2 separate regions of the Homo sapiens genome follow, and region 2 is linked to region 1. The links are contacts of gene promoters, found by promoter capture Hi-C in human tissues and cell types (Jung and others, 2019). All regions are on one chromosome and are shown on one strand. The core of a region is centred on a gene start or on the middle of the fragment in contact, and the rest is flanking DNA. Distances in the headings are between cores, read along the strand shown. Region 1 holds the start of BMP8A (bone morphogenetic protein 8a). Region 2 overlaps MACF1 (microtubule actin crosslinking factor 1).

Region 1 (7,739 bases), core at 2,372-4,871:
ACAGGCTGCCATCAAGAGTTGGGCCCTAGGGGCACCAGGCCTGGCTTTTCAGGACTCAGATGAGGCTGATAGGAGAGGTGGAGCTGGCAGAAGCAGGTGTGAGAGCCTGGGTGTGGGCAGTGACACCACAGCGACCCTGCTATTAGATCCCATGGTGGCTCTGGGGCCACCAACCTTCAGGGGCCTCCAAACACTGAGAGCATCCTGGTACGTGTCTATCCACCCCCCACCCACCCCGCCCCACCCAGCCTCAGTAATTACCAGTTAAAGCTACTCTGAGACAGTTCTACTAGTGCAGTTAGCACAGCAGAATAAAGAAGGCCTTTCTGACAGCTGGCTGCGCCCACCCACAGCCTGGGCTTCCACTAACAACGATCTGCTTGTTAATCCCACGGCGCTGGAGGCCCCGAGTCTTCATGAAGTGCTCAGAGCTGGTGTGGGAAGAAGCTGGGATTTGGAATCCACAGCCATGGATGTCACCTTGGATGTGCTGTGTGGCCCTGGGCTGGCCATTTAATCTCTCTGAGCGCATGAAATGGGGCTGGCAAAACAGTCTCACATGAATTAAATGAGGAATTGTAAGGCTGTGAAAGTTCACACGTGGCCAGGCATGGTGGTTCACGCCTGTAATCCCAGCACTTTGGGAGGCTGAGGTGGGAGGATTGCTTGAGTTCAGGAGTTCAAGACCAGTCTGGGCAATACAGTGAGACTCCCCGTCTCTACAAGAAATATTTAAAAATTATCTGGGTGTGGTGGTGTGCGACTGTAGCCCTAGCTACTGGGGAGGCTGAGGGAGGAAGATTGCTGGAGCCCGGGAATTAGAGGTTGCAGTGAGCTATAATCGCACCACTACACTCCAGCCTGGGGAATGCAGTGAAACCCTGCCTCTTAAAAAAAAAAAAAAGAAAAAAGAAAAAAGAAAGAAAGAAGGAAAGAAAGGAAAAGAAAAGAAAAGAAAAAGTTCACATGCTACTTTTCATTTTAAAAATAAGTACAAACACCTTTGATTGGCTTTTAGAGTTCATTTCTGGGTTTCACGTGTACAAGACATGTGGAGATGTTCCTGTCACCTCCACACTAAGGCTGGGCCACAGCTGGGAGGCCAACAGTGCCCAGGTCCAGGTTCACCCTCTGAGGGGAGCAGCACAGGCTTTCTACTCCTGCCCCTCTACCAATCACACAACAACCCTGAGGACAGATCACCAGGCACCTCCTTTTATAAGGAGCAACCAAGGCTGAGAAGGTGAGGAACTTCCCTAAGGTCACACAGAGGGGTGGGCCCTGCCCAATTCACAGCAACAGCCCCACCAGGCTGTGCATGCCTTGACCCAGGGGATGCCAGGGGAGGTCGGATGTGGGCTGGGTGGTGACGCATTCTGATGGGCGGCTCCCTGGGGACATTCTTGGACGACTCCATCCACAACTCTTCTTGGTCCTGAGCCCAGTGTCAGCCTGTCCTGATGACAGAGCCCCAGCCCCAGCTTCACAGATGGTCTCCTCTGTCCCACATCCCCACCCTGTCCTCTAACTACAAAGGCAGCATACAGATCCCACCGGCTAGAGTCCTGTCCCTGGCACTGGGCGCTCAGCGATGGTGAATGGCTGCCTTCTGCTGCTCGCCTCCACCACCAGCTCTGGGTTGCGGGAAGCAGAGGCTTGGCCATGCCCTCTTCTGCTCTAGTGTAGGAAGCAAATGGCTGATGGCCCCACAAGACCTGCTGCAGCTCAGTACCCTGTGTTCCTCAGCCCAGACTCCTCAGAAAGCTCTCTGCACCCTGAAAGCCTGACCTGACAACAGAAATGTCATCTCATTGAGCCCTGGATGGACAGTCAGGCTTCCTGGGCCTGTCCTGGCTCAGCAACATAGAGGCTGCGCTGTCCTAGGCATGGCGCTGCCTCTCTGAACCTCACTGTCCTCATCTGGGAGATGGGGATGAAGACCGTGGCTGTTATCAGGGTTGTCGGGAGGATGAAGAATTAATGATGCTGTCTGTGGAGGGAGGCTGGTGGCTGGGGCAGGTACCCACTCCCTGCTCTCAGCCCCACAGCTCCCCCACTTCGGGCTGAGCTGTGGTCCTTGGCTCCCAGACCCCGGCCTGTCACTAGCCACAGACAGGAGGCAAAGCAGACGGGGGACCTGACCAACAGTAACTACACGAGCATAGACCAAAGAGTTTAGTACTGGAAAAGAAAAATCTGAGATCTTAAGGAATAAATAGCTCCAGGGTTTGATACAAGATGTTTGCAGACAGGAAAAGCCCGGCTTTGCCTGGGAGAACACAGTGGGTCCAGCTGCCCACTGGGCCATTCCACAGGACCGGACACTCACCCTATACCAGGCCACATGCTAAGTGCAGGGCCCAGGGTGACAAGGCCACAGTCCCTGCCCCAGCGAGCTGAGTCTGCTCCTTCCCCAGCCGCTCCCCTGACAGCCGCACCCCACCCAGGCTCCGCACAGGGAAGAGCCTGCTGTGGACTCAGGGCACGCGACTCAGCTCTGGTCACTCCGATGATGTGACCACAGGTTTCCACGCTGAACTTTGTCCCTCTCCTCAGTACTGTCCTTATCACAGTGACAGCATCCCGGCCTCTGTTTACTCACCTGTCTCCCCAGGACCAGGCTGTCTTCCCGGGGCAGCCCAGGTGGGCAAAGACATCACCTAATTCTTACTCCTGGGTGTGTCTGGGGCAGGGTGAAGGCAGCGCCTGGGAGTCCACAGTCCCCCACACTCTGCTCCTGACCACCCCGCAGCCCAGGGGGCCCCCATGACCCTTAGACCTTCCCTAACCACGGCGGTCCCACTCCCCTGTGGTTCGCGTCCACCGTCTGTGATTCCCCGTTCGGCCAGGGCCCGGCACCGCCCGCGGATGCGCGCCCCTCCCCTGCAGCCAGCTTACTCCGAGGGTCCCCGCGCGGGCGGCCGCACTCACCCATGTTGACGAAGCTCATGACCAGGTCGGCGCGGCCCAGGCGCTGCTCCGCGGGCGCGCCGTCCTCGTCGTCGTCGCCAGCCATGGCGTGGTACAGGTCCAGCATGAAGAGCGGCGCGGACGCGGGCAGCCGGGAGGCGGCGGGTGGCGCGCGGGGCCGGGGCCGCCCGGGTAGCCCGAGCACCGCCAGGATCTCGCGCTGCACGTCCCGGCGCTCGCGCGCGCCCAGACGTCGCTGGGGACAGCCGGGCGGGGGTCGCAGGCCGGGGCCGCCCCCGCCCAGCGCGCACAACGTCAGGCCCAGAAGCCAGAGCGGTCCGGGGCGCGCGGCCATGGCGGGCCGGGGGCGCTCAGCGGGCGCACATCAGCTCCGCCGCCGCCCCTGGGCCCGGGGACGCCCCGACGGCGAACGGGGAGCTGAGTTCGGCGAGCAGGGGGCGGGGCTCGGCGGGCGGCGTCTGCGGCCTCAGCGCGGTCCCTGGAGCGCCCCCCGCGCGCACCTGCCCCGGCTCCGGGACAAGCGGACGCTGACGCGGACGCAGACGCCAACGCTTCGAGGCCGGGGCTGTTCTGAGGGCTGGGACTGTCAGCCAATCCGTCTGTCGCCGCCGTTCCCACCAGTCCGGCTGTGGCTGCGGTCCGCGCAGCGCAGGGGCGACCGGCGAGCTCCGGCAGCGACCCGGGCGGCGCGATTCCCGCGAGTCCTTGCCCCGGCTCAGCCGTCTGTGCCGCCCGCCCACCCCCGGGACTGACCAATGGGGGCGCGGGGGCGGGGCCTGGGCGCGGAGGCCGCGCCCGCTAGGAGCCCCGGGCGGCGGCAGGTGTTGCGGGTGGGGCGACCCCGAGGTGCGACCTCGGCGTGGCTGGCGGTTGGTCCGGGCGAGGAGCCCGCAGCCTGGGCGTCAGCGTGGTCAGGGCCGTCGTGGCTCCCGCCGCGGGCCTCGGCGCAGAGATCCTAAGGCCGCGGCGCCGTCCCGGTCCCGCCAGTGGTGCCACCCGGCTGCCTCGCCGTGGTGTGCCGTGGTCGCCACCGGGCCCGACACGCGGCCGTAGCCCCGTCTGGAGAGCCGGGCGGTGCCAGCCAAGCCCCGCGGGTGGGGCCTGTTCCTCTGCCCGCAGCAGCCGGCCCGGGTTCCGGCCACCGCGGCCCCTCACCGCCTCCTGGCGCCTTCCCCGTGGCCCCTGCATGCGCTTCTGCGGGCGCCTCCTTCTCGGCACCTGCTCGGCTGCTTCTCCCTGCGTCCCCCACCTGGCTCCCGCGTGAGCCCAGGCAGCGCCCCAGTCGGGCCGCCCCCGCCAGCCCTAGCTGTGCGCCCTGCGTCCCCGGTACTGATCCAGCTTTGCGGAGGAGGCTCCGCCTCCTGCCTCCAGCTGGGCCAGAAGCTCTGGGGCCCTTCCCGAGCACTCGGGAGCCACCTGTGCACATCTTCTCAGTCCCCACGGCCCCGGTGCAGGCCTGCCAAGAGAAGGATCCCCGCGGAAACGTCTCGACTGACTCAGTCCCTTTCTGCACACCTGCTCTTCCCTGGGCGCGCTCTCGCCTTACTTATTCCTGTGTGGTTCAGGCGCTGCGGAAGGAGAAGGCACCTAGACTGCACTGGGAAGGCTCCTGGAGTTGACCTGGAGCGCCAGGAAAGGTCAGTGGAGGAAAGTGCTCCAGGCAGAGGGAATAGCTTGTGCCAAGGCCCTGAGACCCCGGCTGGGGAGCCTAATAATGGCAACAGTCAGCACTTGCCACGCCAAGGCATGTTCTGAGTGTGTGTCTCGTGTCATTTCTGTGATGCTCGCACATCGTTAGGGGGTACATACCACTGGAACCTCCTCTTTTAATAAATGAGGAAACTGAGGCACACGGCGGTTAAGGGACTTACGCCAGGTCACACAGCAGTGGAGCTGCGCTCGGGCAGGGGGGCAGTGGAAACTGGAGAGCCCAGGGGGCAAACGGCGGAGGCTGGAGGGGCTGGCAAGGGAGGCACCGCAAAGGGCCTCACAGGGGCTAGACGAGGGCCCTGGGCACCAGAGATTATGGTGCCCCGCCATGTGGATTGAAGATTAAACCTCGAAGCAAGTGTATAATGCCCCCAAAAATCACATTTGGAAGTCATCACTTCAATAAAATTTTCTACAACAAATTCTTAATCTAAATAGTCATTTGCTGGTGCCTTAAACACACGCCTAGTTTGTCTTTTACCCAACAGGTATATTTCCACACTGCTCGTAAATTTTCTGCGCGGTCCCCAGAGCGCCCCCCATGAGGCACCTGCATCAGCTCCGGGCAGAGCAGATGTGGATGCCACCGCCTAGAAGCCGGGGCTACCCTGCGGACTGGGACTGTCCCATAAGGATACTGAGCTAAGGATAATGCAGAATAACCGTTGAAAGTACCCAAGACCAGAGCTTGGAAGCAGAGCGGAATATGGATCAGAGGGAGACAGGAGTCAGGGCCCTGCAGTTGGAGGCAGGTACAGCAATCAGATGTGGGGGTGGGTACAATGACCATGAGTCTCTAATGGTGATGGGGTGGAGGGGCAGAGGAGAAAGCTGTTTAGGAGGCTGAATCCACAGGGCTTTGTCCCCATGTCATCTTGGTCAGAGTCTCGGAATCTCCTGCCCACACCCCCTTCACTGTCCTCTCTGCACGCCCCTTTTGAATCCACTGCACATCACTTGAGGCCCTAGATCCAGCCTGTACAATTCTCAGGTTTGTTTTGTGCAATTCTGGGCTCCCAGCTAGACTGCAAGCTGCCCAGTGCTGGGCTGATTCTTATAACAGAAATCATTTCTCAATTTAGGATGTGGAGATAGAGCTGTGTTTTCTAAACAACGGGCTTCACATTCCCATAAACCTAAACAGCAGATTTTAGCCATTCCAAGGGCCTCTGCCCACGCTTCAGTTCAGCAACAACCACCGTGAGCTGCTCTGTGCTGTGCCCTGAACCAGAGATGGAGCAGACAAGCCCCCTGCCCCTGAGCAGCCCCCACAGCAACAGGGGTGACAGCTGGTGAACACGGCAATTTCCCAAAGCAAAATGAAAGCTGTGCTCCCAGAGGAGCCAGCAAAGTGGCTGTAAGGGCAGAGGAGCGGGGAAGTGGGAGCAGACCACATGAGTGGAATCCAGAACATTAGGACTGGAAGGGAACTGAGGTGGGGTAGGTTTCTTGGAGAAAGTAGTGTCAAAACAAGGGTTTTCCCTAGCCACCTGGCAACTCTGTGATCTTAACCTCTCTCAGGCTCAGTGTCTTATCAAGAAAAGGGGGCTAATGATCATAGAACTGTTAAGCGTATTCAGTGAGAATGTATATAGAGCACTTAGCACAATCACTGGCTTACAGTAAGCAGTCAATAAATATGAGCTAGTTATTGCATCATTCAAGGCCCCAGCAGACACCAAATTTTCCTTCCTCATTTAGCATTTCTATCACAGGACTGTGATTATATATATATATATTTATTTACTTATTATTTATTTTTTGAGATGGAGTTTCTCTTTTCTTGCAGGCTGGAGTTCAATGGCGCAATCTTGGCTCACTGCAACCTCCGTCTCCCAGGTTTAAGCAATTCTCCTGCCTCAGCCTCCCGAGTAGCTGGGATTACAGGTGCCCACCACCACACCTGGCTAATTTTTGTATTTTTAGTAGAGACGGGGTTTCACCACATTGACCAAGCTGGTCTTGAACTCCTGACCTCAGGTGATCCACCCGCCTCAGCCTCCCAAAGTGCTGGGATTACAGGAATAAGCCACCACACCCGGCCCAGGACTGTGATTATACTTTAACCCTTTTCCTAGCATCTTGTTATTTCCTACATGGTCTTGTGTACAGGCATTTGTTGAATGGAAATGCACTTTTTTTTAGCCAGGCATGGTAGCATGTGCCTGTAACTCCAGCTACTCAGGAGGCTGAGGCAGGAGAATAGTTTGAGCTTGGGAGGCGGAGGTTGCGGTCAGCCCAGATTGCGCCACTGCACTCCAGTGGGCAACAGAATGAGTCCCTATCTCAAAAAAAAAAAAAAAAAAGAAAAAAAAAAAAAGAAAAAAAAAGAAATGCACTTTTCGTTGGTGCCGCTGCCAGCTGAACTTTGCCACAAAACCCCAGAAAACCTTAATTACTTGGTAAGATTCTGGACCATAACCCACAATCTGGGAAGATGGAGGTCAAGCTGGTCTCACATGCTTCTGCTGCCAAGAGGCCTAGAAGGGGAAGCAAATTAGGGTGAAAACACTATCCTATACAAAGTCCTGGCAGCCTGAAGTTCCCCAGTTCCATGGAGAACAGAGTAAGCACTTCCTTCAGAATCCATTAGGCTCCAAATTCCTTTTAATCTGGGTATTTGGCCTTAACAGCTTTGGCAAACATGCATCGATCTCACCAAATGCCTATGTCCTAAGGAATGCGGCCTAATGACCAAGAACACAGGTGGCATGAGTCTTAGCCCCTTTACCTCCGAAGCCTCTAGCCCTTTTCTTCTTATTACTAAGTTAACATTTGGCTGCTCTATTATAAAGCCAACTGACTAGAGGCTGGAGGAAATAGAAGTGCCAGACTTGAACAGGGAGTCGAGGACTGGATTCAAGGTTCACTTCTGTCATTTATTCATTTTGTGAGCTCAGGGAAATCACTTTCTCTTGTACTTTCCCATCCCAGTTTCTCCATCTGTAAAACAAAGGAGCTAGATATGATGACCGATTTTGCTTCCACCTCTGAAATTCTACCATTTAACCAGAAATTTCAGCATACTGTGACATAGTGTGACAAACTGGTCCCATTCTGAGAACCCAGGATCTCCATGATTTCTAGTATCTTTTTAC
Region 2 (7,739 bases), core at 1,779-4,278, 62 kb after region 1:
CTAGAAATAACAGATATCAATCCCCTTCAAAAGAAAGATGCCTCTAATCAGTGTTTTTATGAGACTACACTCTTCCTGCCATTGCTCTTTCCTACCCAGACATGGAACAGTAGTAGGTTTAGTCAGATGTTTAAATATAAACCTAATATGGCAGTAGACGGATGAGTCAAGTTAACTCGGAAGTGCCCGCTTAGCTGAAGCAGCATAAGACCCCAAAAGAACAACACATTTTTAAATGGTTATGTAATAACGAAAACCAAGAACATGTTCTACGTGACTGTTAGTTTCATGAGGGCTCCCCAATCCTCCATCCTTCCCTGCCCCCTCAGAGACAGGGTCTGATTCTGTTGCCCAGGCTGGAGTGCAGTAGCACAATCATAGCTCACTGCAGGCTCTAACTCCTAGGCGCGAGTGATCCTTTCACCTCAGCCTCTCTAATAGCTAGGACTACACAGGCAATTGCCACCATGATCGGCTAATTTTTAAATATTTCTGTAGAGATGTGTCTTGTTATGTTGCCCAGGCTGGTCTTGAACTCTTGGCCTCAAGGGATTCTCCTGCCTTAGCCTCCCAAAGTGCTGGGACTACAGGTGTGAGCCCAGTCTCCTATGCCTGACCTCTCCAGTCTTTTATCTCTTCCTCTTCAACTTGGCCAATATACACTTACATTTAAAAATACGCTTCTCCCAAGCACAATACATTTCATATTGAAATATCTGGCCAAGATAAGGGATAACTCTAAAGACACACTGGGGATATACCTGGACTCAGAGCAAATTTCTGTGTGATTCAAAAAGCATATGTTCATCACTATGATCCTAAGGAGTTATATTAACTTATTTTTTGTACTACGGCACATTAAGAGGTGTGTATCCAGCTACACAAAAGAACAAATGATTTTTTTCCAGAAAGTAGGAAGGAAAAAAGATCAAGGGAAATATGACACCTGTGTTTACTGAGAAGGTTCTATTTTAGATAGCTCTGCTATTTTGGTTTGCATATTTGATAGTAATTCCTTCCCCCTCTTCCATCTAATGCTAAGAGAGTTAATTATGTCAAACTAAGATTGTGGTGCATTTGGACCTTTTGAATCTAGATATTATCTACTCCCATCACCATCAGCCTTCTTAGCAGGGCATTAGCTAAGAAAAGGCCTCATGTAGACTCTTCTCCAAGTACTTCTCTACTCAAAGGGGTCAAGTATTTTGGTCAAATTCTGGATCCATCCTCACAAACTTCTACCCAATCATTTCCCATCAATGAAACATATTTATTCCACCAGATTTAGCTTGAGCCCATTCTTATTTCTGAGTCTGTATTTATGTGGGTCATAGTACTGTATCTCACACATCAATACTGTCTAAAATATTAATGCAGAGGTATTATAAGCATTACCTGTTGTGATCTCTGAATAGCAGCATCAATTTCATCCACCCTTTGTCCAATAGTGTCACTGACTAGTTTGTACTGCTCGTTAGCATCGGACACAAGTTTATCCAGCCCTTCTCTGGCTCTCCAGGGCACCAGCTCTAAGAGAGCACGGCTCACCTCATTCACTGTGTCCAACACCAGCCTGTGCTCCATGACCTCCTTCTTTAATTCCTAAGGAGGGAAAAGAGTTTTCAGGCCATACCTTGCTAAATAAAGCACATCAGCAACTGTGCTGGGTGGAAATTGCTATCTCTACCACACATCCCAGCAGGACTCTGACCTCCTTCCTTCAGTTATTTTTTTCTCATCTCAGATTTTTCAATCATTCTGAAGCCTGACTTTAGACTTCATTGTTGCTTGCTTAGAACTGCCTGTAAGACTTTTTGAGCCACATTGTCTCTGGGTAAAACAACTAATACTTCTTTCATCTCCTTACTTCAACAGAAATGATAAATAATGCTTTAACCAAAGGCTCAGTATTTAACCTAACAAGTACCTATACAATATTTCTATGCATCTAGAACTATACTAGATCCTGCAGAGAAATCAAATAAAACCATGAAGCACTCTTTAGAGAATAAATAATAGAGGTTAAAATGTTACAAAGTAAACTTGATTCAACTTCTTTCTTCTTCATAACATATGTGTAACGTATATGTCTTTATGTCAAATCTTACTGTCCATGAGTAAACAAGAAAGGGGGCACATATTTTTAGTTTATATTTAAGGTAAAGGTTGATAAAACTTAAGGATTCTGACAAAGAGGAAGCCTTTTTTTCTTTTTATGGTAAAGTAACAGCTCACCTTCTGTCTCTGCTGAAACTGGGGTATCTGTTCCCCTGTGGGAGACTGTCCTCCACTGGTTGCCAGCTCCTCCTCCACCTCCCTCAGCCACCCGGTCAGTTCCTCATAAGTAGACTGGAACTTGGTGGCCAGCTGCCGGGCTTGCTCTAAAGTTCTGAGGGCCTTGGAGCTAGTAACTGTGATGTCTGCGTAACGAGTCTTTATACCATCTAGTTTTTCCTGGATAAGTAACACCTCCTCACCTATGGAAGATAGCACACAATTACTCATATTTAAGAGACCTAGGAATGAGGAGTCTCTGATCCCCTTTCTTCAAATCAGAGCTTTAATTTCATAGACGCTCTCTCTCTCTCTGTGGTAATGATTTCACCTATCCCATACTAAGGGCAAATGGGAAATAAAATAAACTTTCCACTGGATAAAAGAAGCCACTTCTGAATTATTAAAATCTGAGTTCAGCGTCAAGTGTTTCTAGATGTTTCCAGCACCTTTCAGTGCATGTTGGCATTCAAGATACTGAAGGAGAGGAGAAATCATCATCTATAACCAGATGTGAGATAACTTAGTTTTCAAAAGATTTAGCAGGAAACAACCTTCTGGAGCACAGTAGGGAATACAATCAGTGAATACTAAGCTTCTCATATATACATAAAGAAGAGGCTAAGGCAGGGAACTCCTTTCCTTGGGTACATAATTGTCTTTGAGACCATAGGGGTGCTAAGAGACACACTTTTCAAAGTACCTGTGGTTTGTTTTAGAAGAGCCTGACCATTTTTAATAGCTTGATCTACATTCTTCTTTCTATTAACAATTTCTTCATTTAAAGCCTGAAAGGAAAGAATACCATTAATCCTGAAACTGTGGCACTACAAATGAAACAAAATGCGAGACCTTTAAGAGATCAAATTTAAAGTAAAGAGATGAATACTAGTTTAATTTAAACATCAGATATTTGATCCCCTCATCTTCTCCTTGGTTAGCCCATTGACTATTCAAAATAATTAAATCAGATACCTATAGGCAAGCTTTCCTATGCGCTGGATGAGAAAAACTTAGAATTACATCAGCTTTACCAATTATTGGTACCAAACCTGAACCCAAGAAAGGCAGAAGTGAAATTGAGCAAAATTGTCTACTGTGTCCAAAATAAGGAATAAACAGAAAGTTCAAGAGAAGAAATTCAGTAAGAACAGACTGACTTAAATCAGAATCCTGGTTAAAAACTCTCTTCATATTTAAAGTTGACGAAGCAAAAGAATCAGACTATTAGAAAAATTACCTATTTTTACTCTCCCAAACAGATTTCATAAAAATGAAATGAAAAAGGCAAACTCTTCTATTAAGATGACACAGAATCCCCGGAATTTGAACAAATCCAGAAATATCCTAAAAGTTTTTTAACTGTATGATCAAATCCTGGGCACTACACAGATAGATCTGGTTTTGTTAAAGCACATTATCTTTCATAAAACTGCTCAAATAGAATCTTAGTGACCCATCACCTAATAATGTAAATCATGAGTTGGAGTTCAGATGGCCCCTGACTATATACCCTGTACCATCTTCTAGAATTACTGATTTAACTTGTTAAATATAAGTATTTCCATGGACTCATCCAAAAACAGATTAGCAGTCAGCATCAAGTCCACTAACTATGCACTTGTGTATAAAATAAAGTTGAAGTGTTTGTAATGAAGAAAAAAAAATAAATGAAGAGAAACATGAATCAAAATAACAAAATAACAGAATAACATAACCAATAAAAATGGAAACATGAATACCAGGTGGTCAGCATGCTGCCTGTGCAGGACATCCTGTTTGAAATCCTTTACGAACACTGAACTGAGCTTGTCCTCAACCTCAGCCAGCCAGTTGAGCACCTCCACCTCATCCTCCCCAAACAGCCTAGCATTAGACAGAGCTTGGTCAAGTAGGGCTGCCTTCCGACAACAGCGGTCTTGAATTTCACTGTATCGGGCCTGCAATGAGTCTATCTTTTCTGACAGCACACCCTGTTCTGCAGGAGATGTCAGGGAGGAGAGGGACTGCCCAATTTTGACTGCCTGGTGCACATCTGTTGCATGGTTTTCTATGTCTTCTTCCAGAGCCTGGAAATCCAGATGGAAAAAATGAATAACAGAAACAAAATAAATGAAAAGTAAACACAAAATGATGAATAACAAATGATACAACAAATTAAACAATTAAAAAACTCACCGACTGAAAGGCAAAAATAATATAAAAATTGGGAACAAAAGCTGTTTATTCCGGTGGTAGCCTATCAGTCAATTTCTATTTGTATTTCAAGAATGTGACTTTTCCAATTAATAATCTGACCATATTTTAAGTTAAACCCACAAAACACACATCCTCTAGAATGCTGCAGGCAGTTTACTCATTTCTAGGATTTCTAATTCCAGTTTTCTATTTTCATTTACTGTAACCACTCCCTACCTTGTGCCGAATGATCTGCTGCTGTATTTTGGCAGTCTGAGTGCCAACAGGTTCTGAGTTAGCAAGCTTTTTCTCTGTGACAGATAAGAAGTCAGAAATAGGCTCAGCTGTCTCATGGAACTGTTTGGCCAGAACCAGGATGTCTTCCAGCTGTTTTTGCCTACACAAATATATAGAACAAGCTGCTCAGGAAGAAAAGTCACATTAAAACTGGTAATAGTACTATACTCAGTAAAAGAATAGTCTTTTCCAGGTATAGTTTAAATACCAATAGTAAACAGAACACACGTTATGTAGCATTTCGATGTTTTAAAGGATTTCACACCATTAACCTTATTCTCATTCTGTCATAACCTTGTAAGGTGGACAGAATAATTATCCCCCATTATAAAAGAATAATTATCCCCCTATTATAAAAGAGAAAGTTCAGTCAGAAGGCTTAAAGAAAGATTTGTCCAATCACCTGGTGAGTAGCAACAGTAGAATCAAATCTTCTAATGTTCTCCTTATTTAACACAAATCAAAACAGAATGTAGTATATATATCACCTGAACATCTGACCAAAATAAGGTTTAAAGGAGGCAAAAAGTTGTCTGTTTTCATTCTCTCTGTCACTACTACCTTCATTTATGAGTGAAGATATCTGAAGAGTAAAGACTGTATATTGCCTATGAACTAGAACTCCCTCCCCAACTCCCCAAAATCCAGTCAGGCTTCTGGTAATTTCAAGCCCCAGAACATAACTTTGAATCCAGATTTAAGGCAAAAAAACAAAAAAGAAACAAACAAAAAACCTCACGCTGGCTGAATTTGCCAACACAAAAAGCACCCCCCCCAAAAAAAAACCAAACAAAAAAAACTACAGACTTTATAGCTCACTTGGAATCTTAACTCTTATTTAATATAAGATCCATAACTAAGCTTGGCTTTTCCTGGGATACATGACTGTCACTGAGACCAGAGAAGTGCTAAGAGATGTACTTTCCAAAGTACCTGTGGTTTGTTTTACTCTATAAAATAAAAGCAGCAAATTACAAAGTGAGGAGGAAGTCTGGATATTGGAGATAGCCTGACAAGGAACAGACAAGAAAACAACCACAGAACTGTATTAGCATGCAGATTAATAATGAAAGGTCATAATGTTGTCTTTGAATTACTAAAAACAGACTAAGATATGGCATTTGAAGAGGCCTGGGAGTATATGATGCACTTAAGTTCAGCAAACCTTTACTGAAGACCTAATTTACGCCAGGTCCTATGCTAGTTATGCCCTGACAAAGTTATTTTAATAAGAAGTGGTTTAAATAAAAAAAGTTGGCATTTTGATTACTGGAAATTCAATTATGTTTGAATATAAAGAAAAACATATTTTTTAAGTGGCAATCTAAGTCTAAAACTTTCTTTCCTAGTTTGTTTATGCCAGCCTTCAAAATATATCTTCAAGTAATGCAACTAAAACATACAATATTAAAAATTATTATTAAATTTGAATTTCATTTTTTAAAAATTGCCTCTAATTTTTATGTCTTTCTTACTCATTTGATTTTGGAATCTGAAAATTTGAAGAATTTATTGTAATAAGATTAAAGGTATTTTTAGGGAGAAGAGCTAAAAATAATTTAGAAGCATCAAATATCTACTCTTGTTATTTGTTTCTATTTAAAATATTGGCCCAGAAACTATATTAGGCTAGGAGGATGGAAACAAGTAAAGTAGAAGGAAAGAGTCATAAAAATATGCATTAGATAAACAAACCATGACTTTAAGGAGTTTATGGACCAGGAAGGTAAGTACATAAAATAATGATCATAATACAAGGTACAGATAAAGAGTTATGGCAGTGAAGAGGCAGGAAAAATTATTCCATGATTGAGGAATAAAGGTAAGTTTTATAGAAGAGAGAGAGCTGGACAAAAGCATTTCATGAAAGATGTATTATAACCCATAAAATAAGACACAGGGTTAGGACATTGTCAGAAGATATTAAAGAACAGAATATAGTTTACTTCAGCTATAATATTAAGGAGTGAGAAGAATAGTAGAAGCTAAGAAAGGTAGGTTAGGGTCAAATAGAGGGCTTTGAATGGTGTGTTAAAGAGTTTATATTTTATTTTAAGCACCTTCTTAGCACGGCAGGCAGTGTGTCAGCCTCATAATCTAAAGGTTTTATTCTAACAGGGAGTCAATTAAATATCTCTGAGCTTGAAAAGATATGATTAAAGGCTTATTTCAGAAAGGTTCATCTGCAGCTGGGGGATGGGAAGGGGAAGGCCCCAGGGTTAGTGGTAGAGTGATTAGTGAAGAAGCTATCTCTATACACCTAGTGAGAGCTCGTAAGTCATGAACTGAGGGGAGAGTGGGAATTAGAGAAACAGATGGACAGGAAAGACACTGTAAAGTAAAATAGACAGAATTTAGCATGCTGATCGATGTGGGCACAAAGGAGAAATTAAAAAAAGAAAAGTAAAAATGGAGTCGAGGTTTTAAGCCTAGGAAACTGGAAAGCTAATGGTACCATTACTGGAAATGGACAGAGAGAAAAGAAAATAAGCAGTACAAATCTGGAAATACAAGTAAGTTAAATTCTTTCCATTTTGTTTCTTCCACTAACATAGGCAAGCCATACTTTGCAACTCAGGTAAGGAATAAGCCAAGTCATGGGCAGGTGGACATAAAAAGACTGAAGAGGGAATTATTTGAAGACTGCCATAGGCTACCTAGGAAATGTAAAGGATACAATAACAAATGATCAGCTCTCTTATTGATTTCTCATTAGCTGGTATTTAATTTTAAAACTGAGGACTGTATAAAAGTAAAGACATCTATGTGACTTATTAAGCTCAAGTCACAGGATAACTTATAGCTATGAAAAGAGAAAGGGAATATTTCCTTGAAGGAGGATTTGTTGCCTGTCTTTTTGACCATTTATTGAGGTAAGTTCATGCATCTCTTGAATTCCCAGATATTTAACAGAACCACAGACTAGCTCCTAAAGGCAAAAAAATCTAATATTACTATAAGCTAATAGAAAAGAAATATGACACATTTCA

What was found. The method cuts DNA at HindIII sites, captures the fragments that hold promoters and counts their contacts. A contact is called where the count stands out against the background at its distance.
Region 2: a contact is called between a fragment that was not itself captured here and the fragment with the promoter of BMP8A in region 1, in 2 of the 25 tissues and cell types used here (hippocampus and liver).

What each region holds. Positions count from the first base shown.
Region 1 is chr1:39,487,518-39,495,256 of GRCh38, reverse strand. It overlaps BMP8A (bone morphogenetic protein 8a), which reads right to left and starts at 3,621. Exons shown (of 7, transcript NM_181809.4): 1 at 2,932-3,621. The coding sequence starts at 3,265. It overlaps LOC124904101 (a long non-coding RNA gene), which reads left to right and starts at 3,709. Exons shown (of 2, transcript XR_007065978.1): 1 at 3,709-4,568; 2 at 5,130-7,739. RefSeq lists silencers at 3,293-3,392, 3,493-4,122. The HindIII fragment of the contact is 32,682 bases long and covers 1-7,739 here.
Region 2 is chr1:39,424,565-39,432,303 of GRCh38, reverse strand. It overlaps MACF1 (microtubule actin crosslinking factor 1), which reads right to left. Exons shown (of 101, transcript NM_001394062.1): 62 at 4,690-4,849; 63 at 4,017-4,343; 64 at 2,978-3,062; 65 at 2,236-2,477; 66 at 1,396-1,602. Among named protein-coding and RNA genes, the nearest start is that of BMP8A, 63 kb to the left of the region's middle. The HindIII fragment of the contact is 4,311 bases long and covers 873-5,183 here.